Regions from separate parts of the Homo sapiens genome. Here all the other regions are linked to region 2. The links are contacts of gene promoters, found by promoter capture Hi-C in human tissues and cell types (Jung and others, 2019). All regions are on one chromosome and are shown on one strand. The core of a region is centred on a gene start or on the middle of the fragment in contact, and the rest is flanking DNA. Distances in the headings are between cores, read along the strand shown. Region 1 overlaps NUFIP2 (nuclear FMR1 interacting protein 2). Region 2 holds the start of MYO18A (myosin XVIIIA). Region 3 overlaps NUFIP2 (nuclear FMR1 interacting protein 2).

Region 1 (3,312 bases), core at 59-2,558, 78 kb after region 2:
GTAATATCTTCTACTTAAACATATTAGCCTCTCCTACAAAGGTCCTGAACCAATTAAAAAAAAAAAAACTTTAAAAAAGATGATTTGACAAAACCTGGGTAGTAGTACATCTACACATTATAAGTACACATACACAAAGTAAAGCTATTTAGTACATACAGATTGCAGCACTTGAACCAAATGTACCCAACTCCTAAACTTGTTCTAATCAGCTTGGGCAATTTTTTAAAAGATACACGTTATCTTTAAAACAACCAGTGCTTTGATCTTACAAACAACTGAATAATTCTAATCTCAAGCCAGTCAATTCAGTAAACCAAATTTATGCTAAAGCAATAAAGGTAAAAGCCTATCCTACCTTTAAACCAGCTTTAAGACAAAAAATCGTCACCAAGTTCCATATGACAAAAAAGGGTCTTTCAGTTTGAATTACTTTCCATTTCTATTTGATCAAATAAACCAAAATATTACTAAGGAAGAGCATCCAATGATTTGTAAAGCTGATAAAACTGCCCTGTTTCAAGAAAAGCTCTTTAATAGATACAAGTCAAGCTCTCGTTTAAATTGAACTTTATTAAAATAGGTGCCAGTTTTCCTCTCTCCTAGTTCCACTGATGAGCTAGCCCAGAACTATGTAACTTTGAGCCAAGTTTCCAAAGATGGTAAAGCTAACAACAGCAAAGTAGTAAGGACAAATCGGTCACTTTTGGTAATGACACACAAATTAAACTTTCAAAACATGTGCATAGCTTTATTCATCTACTTAGATCTAACCTTTTCACGGAGCTTCGGCAAAATTCGAGTGTGCAAAATGCATTTCTAAAACGTAATGCAAGCAAAGCTTTCACATTTACACTGGCAGGAAATACAGAGAGAAACTAACAAGTCACATTAGGGAAAATTCAGATCTTTTTTTTTTTTAATGACAAGAATTGCACAGTTTATTATTTTGAGACAATTGTTGCAGACATAAATATTTAAAATTTTCTAAGCAAGGTGCTTTTAACAAAATTTTTAAAGTTGGAAAGAGCTGATAACTTGGATCATAGCTCACACAGAATTCCAAATTAAAGTGGACTCCATTATCTCCCTATATTTTGCAAACAATGCTTTGTATAACACTTCTTTAAAACACTAAAAGAGACAGCAAGCTGAAACTTTTTTCAAAGCACACAAGAAATGTTTACTTGAAGAAGGTGCTGAGGGGAGAAGGGAGTGAAGAATCCTTTTACTATTTCCCACTACAGGACAGCCACTAACAGACTAAGAACAAAAAAGATACAACAAAAAAAGTAAATCACTTCCCCAGCTTATAAAATAGTTCCAGTTTCGCAAGATCTGTAACTTTAAACAGAGAGCACCAGTTGGGCAATAGAATGAGCATTTCATACTGCATAAAAATTAGTGAGGTGGTAAGAACCATCGACTATCTCAGGCATTACTACATGGCGTTTCCAATTTTTTTTTTTTAATATACATGCAAGGCACATTGATATAAAAATAGATCTCTGGCCAACAAATATATTAAATAAGCAAATTAAAATTTTGGCTTTGCGATATTGGCAACATCAAAATATAACCAGATAGCTTTGGCCCACACATCTTTCTCATTCCTCCACCTCATTTGGTGTTTCCCACCCATTATTTTGGGTTCAATCACCTTCAAGTTTGGGTATGTGCTTGAGAAATGACTTTTCTTCTTGTCAAGTAGCATTCACTAAAGTTTTCCTTTGCTAAGTAAAAAGACAAGAGAAACAGCTGGAGTTTTGATTGATTTGATTTAAACTAAATCTGATTGGTTCAGGGCAGCACTATTTCCCCTCTATATACAAACAAAAAATAAGTCCCCAGCTTACATAGACAAATGTTTTCTAAAAGATCAGCAACAAATCAATGACACCACGTCCTTTAAGCCATTCTTCCCAATTCCTCTTTCTGAGGCAGAGAGAGGGAATAATAGAAACAAAGCTAAGATTTAAACTATTTTCAGTAGTAGAAGACATTTAAGGCCAAAAAGTGTACTATTAACAGAATTCTTATATTCCTAAGTTATTGTCCTTCATAGGACAATATCAGCTAAGAATTAGTTACTTGTATTGATTCCCTCCCAAAAAGAATTTTATAATTCATTCACTCTTGTTAGTGGCTGTGCTACAGGAAAGGTATCAAAGCAACCTATGGTATATGTATGGTATATAGTAATGTAAAAAGTGCATCACATTCTTGATTTTCAGTTTCTCATAGCAGCAGGATTAATCTAAGACAGAAAACAGTTGTATTTTCATTCTTAAAATGCAACAATATCTAATGAAATGTATTCAAGATCATGAAAGGATCCTCCTCTATGAAGGATAAATGAAAACAGATTAATAATAGACAAACAGGGTAAACTAAAGGCATTCATTCATATTTACATATTAAAACCACTTTTGTTAACACCAAATCTTTACATCTAGCAAAAGAAATAAGCATTTTAAGAATAAAGCAGACATCACTAAAGCAGTATCCATTTTCAGAGCCTTTGATTAGCACCTGAGGAAAAAAGGGTACATGGAAAGCTATGTAATTTGCCCTCAAGTTAATTTGTTGGTCTGAAGAGTACAACAACTTTGATATGCACTGAAAGTAAAACTAAATTGGAAAATAAATGTTTGTAGTTAGTTTAATAAGGCTGTAGAAAAGAGATACTTGGCCGGGCACGGTGGCTCACACCTGTAATTCCAGCACTTTGGGAGGCTGAGGCGGGCAGATTGCCTGAGGTCAGGAGTTCGAGACCAGTCTGGTCAACATGGTGAAACCCCGTCTCTACTAAGAATACAAATTAGCCAGGTGTGGTGGTGTGCGCCCGTAATCCCAGCTACATGGGAGGCTGAGGCAGGGGAATTGCTTGAACCAGGGAGGTGGAGGTTGCAGTGAGCCAAGATTGCGCCACTGTACTCCAGCCTGGGCAACAGACAGTCCGTCTCAAAAAAAAAAAGGTGGGGGGGGGGGGGATACTGCAGTATTATAAAATGGCTTTAGAACTCTGCACATAACAAAATTGTATGGAAAATAGGGAAGTCTGAATCAGCAATCCCATCACATATGAGGACGGCCATTCCATAGTTTCTAGCCCATAACTGATTTACCATTCCCAATAATGCAAGAGCAACATACCAATCATGCTGCAATGGGTGTTTTTATTATGCAGACAACCGAAAATTCTATTCGCACTATTGCTGGCATCCTTTAACTACTTTAAGACCTTTCTTGAGCGGCAAAACAGTGTGAAATTTAAAACTCAGTAAAGCAATGCTTTTGAGTGGAGCCAAT
Region 2 (3,110 bases), core at 414-2,913:
AAAAAGGGTGGGGAACATTAGGCCAGGCCTGTTGCCACAACAACAGGGCACCAACCTGCTCAAGAAAAGGGCTCCAAAGCACAAGGGAAAGGCGGCTGATTCAATGGGCTCTGTACTCACCGTCCTGCTCAGGTGATCTTGCTCTTAATCACCCAGGTGGCCTCCCCTCCCTTCCAGCACACCCCAGTGCATACACACTTCCCAGAGCTCACTTGCCACAGGGGCACTGATGAGGCCTTCTCGGCCACAGACACGCCAGGGGCTCCAAAAGACAAGACGAACCCACACTAACTAGCCCAAGTCATTGGCAGGGTGAAGCAGGGAGGGAATCCAATTCTTTAATTCGGGGTGGCCATCTGAGGGAATGAAAGCCCTAGCCAGGACAGTCCCTCTCAGGAAGCATTCCCCCAGCCCTCCCCACACAAATACAAACTATGAGGCCAGCGCCAAACACATGCCCCATTGGCAAAGTGGTCAGGCAAAATGAATACCCGCTCAAAAACAAACTGGCTGTCTTCCTCCCCATCTCCCCCACCCCCCACCTCTAGCTCATTCTGGCCGCAACCTTTCCAACTAATCAGCAAGACACATGTGCCTTGCAGTAGGGCAACTCCCCCATCTCCACCCCCAAAACAAAGCCCCAATGCCTGGCCTGTCCCTGCGGGCCTTATCGCACCCAGGAACATGACCCACACTCCTGGCCGGGTTTGGGACCAAGGAGCGCACCCCCACTAACAAGGGGCAGGGTGAGGGGGCAGCCACCCCTACCACCTCCCCTTCCCATTGGCGAAACAACTGGCATGACAGGTTAGCAGGGCGGGGCGTCGGGGCGGTCTCTCCAGAGGCCTGGGGCAGCTTGTCCGACCTTCCCACACGCACCCCACCCCTCTGCAGGGAAAGGTGAGGTGAGCATTCAGTCTCAGGGCACAGCCTGCACTCCCTAATCCCCAAAGCCTGCCACCATTCACCCTCTCATCTTCTGTCCCAAGAGGAGGGGGCCCAGGGAAGCGGGGTCTCCATTGTTTTGCCAGCTGTCTAGCAGCTGCTCCTTTGAGAGGAGCCCGCAGTCTGCCCGGCAGTGAAAGAGTGAAGGCCGCTGGGAGGGATAAAAGGGTCGGTAGAGGTGCTCCCCTTCCCCGCTGCCTTCCTCAGCGCCCCGCTCTCTCGCTCGCTCCATCGTGGGGCCTGGACGGGGGCAGGAGAAGTCCCCCCACCCTCGAGGCTGCAGCCCCCACCCCGCAGCTCCGGGCCACCTGGGCGCCTCCAAGCCCCAAATCCCCCCACACTGAAGGCCACCCTGTCCTGCCTCCCTGCGCCCCCCAGGTTGGCTGGAAGGGCCGGTGGTTCCCCCTTCCCCGCCGCTCCCGATCGGCCCCCACCCCCGGGCGTCGAGCTCCACGGCGCCGCCAGGGACGGGAGCCGGGAGTCCGGGCCGCTGCTTCCAGGGGACGGGGGAGGAGGAGGAGGAGCCGGCGGGCCCCGCCGCCCGCCCGCCCTCCCTCCCGGCCGGAGCCCGCCCCGCCGCCCCACCAAGCCGGGCCCGCCACCGAGCGGCCGCCGCCGCCGACCGGCACTCACCGGCCACCGGAGCCCGCCCGGCAGGCAGCAGAAGCGGAGACGCGGCATCCAGCAGCCTCGGCCCGGTCAGGGATGGAGCAGAGCGCAGCGCGGCGCAGCTCAGCGCCGCCCCCAGCGACCGCGCAGGCCGAGCCGAAAGGGAGCTCCCTGCTGGCGGCTGTGGGGATAAACGCCCGGCCTGCCTGGCAGCGCCAGTGCGCGCCGCCAGACGTGGGCCAGGCGGGCCGGGCGCTGCCCTGGCAGCCTCCGTCCGCTGTGGACTCCGAAGCCCCTCTCGCTGTGTCTGAGAGAGGCCCTGCCTGGAGTTTCTGTCTGCACTGGGCACTGGAGGCTGTCCGAAAAGGGTCCGAAAGGGGCTGAGTGGCACTGCCTAGGACAGGCACCAGGGTCATGATGAACGTATAGAAGAGGGGCTGTCCAAGGCAGGCACCGAACTCTGCAGGCTGTGTTCAAGGTAGTGCTGTCTAAAGGAAGCAATTAAGTCTTACTGGCCGCCTCCTCCCAAGGTGGCTCTGCAGAGGCACACACAGGGCCCTGCTGGATGGTGCCCCAGGCTCAGTCCAGACCAGGTACTGCCTGCCATGTCCGAGATGGCACTGCCAGAATGCACTCCCCAAGGTAAAAACAGACTCCCAATAGCTTGGTCTGATACAGCCCTGCCTCAAAATGGAGTGGATCAAGAGGCGTACCAGGGCCCGGGAGCCATGGCTGTAAGTGCCACTCACTCCCTAAAGGAGTTCACCAATGCCAAGATTAACACTTTCAGAAGCTCTTTGGAATGCAGTCTGTCCCTGGGTCCACTGTGTGCTGTAAATATCAAGTGAGCTGCTGTACCCACCAAGAAGACAGTTTATACTTCCTGGGAGAGGCCAAGGGACATCCAGATACCAGGCCTCCAAGATAGGTGCTATGTCTAGAGTTTGGAGAAAGAAAGAAATGGGGACACTTCCCTGGGCAGTGTCCATGCTGGAGTGGGGTGTGCCAGAATGTGGAAGAAACTGAGTGGGGTGGTGCAGGAAGAAGGGTGTAGCAGACAAATGCTGCTACCTCCCTAGACAGCCCAAACAGGAACTTCTCCAGGCAAGGGCAGCCCAACCTGACAGACCAGGGAAGGCTGGAGCAAGGAGGCTCAGAAAGCAGAGAGTTGAGTAAGAGTTAGGGAGTTCCTGAGGAATAGACCCAGGCGGGATACACATTTTGGAATAACATGCAACTCAAATTCAATTTAACAAACTGCCTGCTAAGTGCCAAGTGCAGCCCCAGGCACTTGGGGTGACACAGAAGGAGATCAGACATGGCATATCTCCAGGGAAATCACATGGGGAACAGGTAGACCTGAGCTGTGACAGTAGTAGGGTTCACCATGCTGGCATTACTTGGATGATGAGATAGGTGCTATGATGGGAGGCTTATTTGGCTTGAGGAGTGAGAAGAGCAGCTTCAAAAACATGACATTTGAGGCCAGGCATGGTGGCTTATGCCTGTAATCCCAGCACTTTGGGAGGCTGAGGTGGGCAGATCACTTGAGGCCA
Region 3 (2,985 bases), core at 268-2,767, 100 kb after region 2:
TTTATTTTCATTTTTTGAGGTGAAGTCTTGCTGTGTCTCCTAGGCTGGATAGAGTGCAGTGGTGTGATCTCAGCCCACTGCAACTTCCACCTCCCAGATTCAAGCGATTCTCCCACCTCAGCCTCCCAATTAGCGGAGACTACAGGCCTGCACCACTATGCCTGGCTAATTTTTGTATTTTCATAGAGATGGGGTTTCGTCATGTTGGCCAGGTTGGTCTCAAACTCCTGACCTCAGGTGATCCACCCGCCTCAGCCTCCCAACGTGCTGGGATTACAAGTGTGAGCCATGTCCGGCCCCAGCCTATTTTTAAATGAATATTCCAAAATGTCAGCATTTCAAATGCTTCATATCCTTCAGTGCCATAACAGCCATGTAAGACAGATCAACCCAGTTTAAATTGGCACTGTGACCAAACACACAACTCATATCAATTATTATTTCCAAAGACTTGGCTTCAAATGACTTTCAACCATTTCAAAATCAAAAGTTTACTTCAAAAAGTTAGGATCTAGTGTTCAAAGCTTTTAAAGTCAAGTCAAAGAGAGGCTTGCTAAGCATTCTGAGATAACTACTTTTAAGAAGGCACAGTTATATGTCCCAGGTATGTACACTAAGAGCCATCACAAGCTAAGCATGGTGGCTCATGCCTGTAATCCCAATACTTAAGGAGGCTGAAGCAGAAGGATCACTTGAGGGCAGGAATTCCAGACCAGCCCAGACAACATGGGTGGTAGCGCAAACCTATGGTCCCAGCTACACAGGAGGCTGAGGCGGGAGGATTCCTTAAGCCCAGGAGTTCAAGGGTGCAGTGAGCTAGGATCATACCACTGCATTCCAGCCTGAGTCACAGGGTGAGACCCTGTCTCTTAAAAAAGAGCCATCACAGCCAGGTGTGGTGGCTCATGCCTGTAATCCCAGCACTTTCGGAGGCGGAGGTGGGCGGAGAACTTGAGGTCAAGAGTTCAAGACCAGTCTGGCCAACATGGCGAAACCCCGTCTCTACTAAAAATACAAAAAAATTAGCCGGGCACGGTGGTACATGCCTGTAATCCCAGTTACTCGGGAGGCTGAGGCAGAATCGCTTGAACCCAGGAGGCAGAGGTTGCAGCGAGCCAAGATCGCACCATTGTACTCCATCCTGGGTGACAGAGTGAGGCTCCGTCTCCAAAAAAAAGAAAGGAAAAGAAAAGTTAGGACAGGCATGGTGGCCCACACCTGTAATCCTAGCACTTTGGGAGGCTGAGGCAGGAGGATCCCTTGAGGCCAGGAGTTCAAGACCAGCCTGGGTAAAATACACAGACACCGTCACTATATGTATATATACATATATAAAAAATACAAGAATTAGCTGGGCAGCCGGGCACGGTGGCTCATGCCTGTAATCCCAGCTACTAGGGAGGCTGAGGCAGGAGAAATCACTTGAACCTGAGAGGCGGAGGTTGCAGTGAGCCGAGATCACGCCACTGCACGCCAGCCAGGGCGACAGTGTGAGACTCCATCTCAAAAAAATAAAAATAAAAAAATTAGCTGGGCATTGCGGTGCACACCTGTGGTCCCAGCTACTCAGGAGGCTGAGGCAGGAGGATCACTTGAGCCCAGGAGCTCAAGGCTACAGTGAGCTATGACCACACCACTGTACTCCAGCCTCAACAACACAGCAACACCCTGTCTCAAAAAAAAAGAGAAAAGTTAATGGCATAACATATTATATAAAAAGCTAAAAGAGGCCAGGCATGGTGGCATACACCTGTAGTACTAGCTACTCAGGAGGCTGAGGAAGGAGGAGAGCTTCAGCCCAGTTCCAGGCTGCAATGAGCTACGATAGTGCCACTGCACTCCAGCCTGGGTGACAATGAGATCCTGTCTCTTTAAAAAAAAAAAAAAAAAAAACAGCTAAAAGGAAAATCCCACACAAGGAATTAGAATCCACACAAATCCCGCCACCCCCCACCCTTTTTTTTTTTAGAAGGAGCCTTGCTCTGTCGTCCAGGCTGGAGTGCAGTGGCACGATCTCAGCTCACTGCAACTTCCACCTCCCGGGTTCACGCCATTCTCCTGCCTCAGCCTCCCAAGTAGCTGGGACTACAGGTGCCTGCTACCACGCCCGGCTAATTTTTTGTATTTTTAGTAGAGATGGGGTTTCACTGTTAGCCAGGATGGCCTCGATCTCCTGACCTCGTGATCCACCCTCCTTGGCCTCCCAAAGTGCTGGGATTACAGGCGTGAGCCACCGCACCCAGCACAAATCCCCTTTTTATGCTCTATTGTATCTTTACTTCATACCCTCAATTGTACTTAACACTCAAATTTTTAAAAATCCATAGTACGCTTAAGGTTCCAAGTAATTGCTTAATCTAAAAACTTCCTGTATTAAAAAAAGCCCTTGCCAGAAGCTGCCGCCATGCACTTGGACTTCCCAGCCGCCAAAACCTTGAGTCAAATAAACACCTTTCTTTGTTGGGTGCAGTGGCTCACACCCGTAATCCCAGCACTTTGGGAGGCCAAGGCAGGTGGCTCATGAGGTCAGGAGACCAGCCTGACCAACACGGTAAAACCCTGTCTCTACTAAAAATACAAAATTAGCCAGGCATGGTGGCGTGCACCTGTAATCCCAGCTACTCAGGAGGCTGAGGCAGGAGAATCGCTTGAACCCAGGGGGCGGAGGTTGCAGTGAGCCAAGACTGTGACACTGCACTCCAGCCTGGGCAACAGAGCAAGACCCCATCTCAAAAAAAAAAAAAACCACCAAAAAACAAAATAAAAACACCTTTCTTTATATAAGTTAAATAAATAGTGCACCATTCTTAAAGAAGTGACATAACGCACTCTCTTACCCACTATTTCCAAATTAAGTTGCTGAAGGGCTTATTTTTGAAGTCAGGAGAAATGCAGAGAACTTCCAATTCTAAGCCCAACTTCAACTACTCACTTAGAGATTACTACTGAACATCTGAAAACTACACTAAAGCACAAAGAAAATAA

Evidence for each region. The method cuts DNA at HindIII sites, captures the fragments that hold promoters and counts their contacts. A contact is called where the count stands out against the background at its distance.
Region 1: a fragment that was not itself captured here is called in contact with the fragment with the promoter of MYO18A in region 2 in 2 of the 25 tissues and cell types used here (hippocampus and mesenchymal stem cells).
Region 3: a fragment that was not itself captured here is called in contact with the fragment with the promoter of MYO18A in region 2 in 5 of the 25 tissues and cell types used here (aorta, dorsolateral prefrontal cortex, hippocampus and 2 more).

The regions. Positions count from the first base shown.
Region 1 is chr17:29,256,610-29,259,921 of GRCh38, forward strand. It overlaps NUFIP2 (nuclear FMR1 interacting protein 2), which reads right to left. Exons shown (of 4, transcript NM_020772.3): 4 at 1-3,312. Among named protein-coding and RNA genes, the nearest start is that of CRYBA1, 11 kb to the left of the region's middle. The HindIII fragment of the contact is 3,214 bases long and covers 1-2,915 here.
Region 2 is chr17:29,178,735-29,181,844 of GRCh38, forward strand. MYO18A (myosin XVIIIA) reads right to left here and starts at 1,664. Exons shown (of 42, transcript NM_078471.4): 1 at 1,579-1,664. RefSeq lists silencers at 1,338-1,387, 1,508-1,557, 1,523-1,743. The HindIII fragment of the contact is 14,487 bases long and covers 1-3,110 here.
Region 3 is chr17:29,279,817-29,282,801 of GRCh38, forward strand. The region is part of intron 2 of NUFIP2 (nuclear FMR1 interacting protein 2); the gene reads right to left. Among named protein-coding and RNA genes, the nearest start is that of NUFIP2, 13 kb to the right of the region's middle. The HindIII fragment of the contact is 8,027 bases long and covers 1-2,985 here.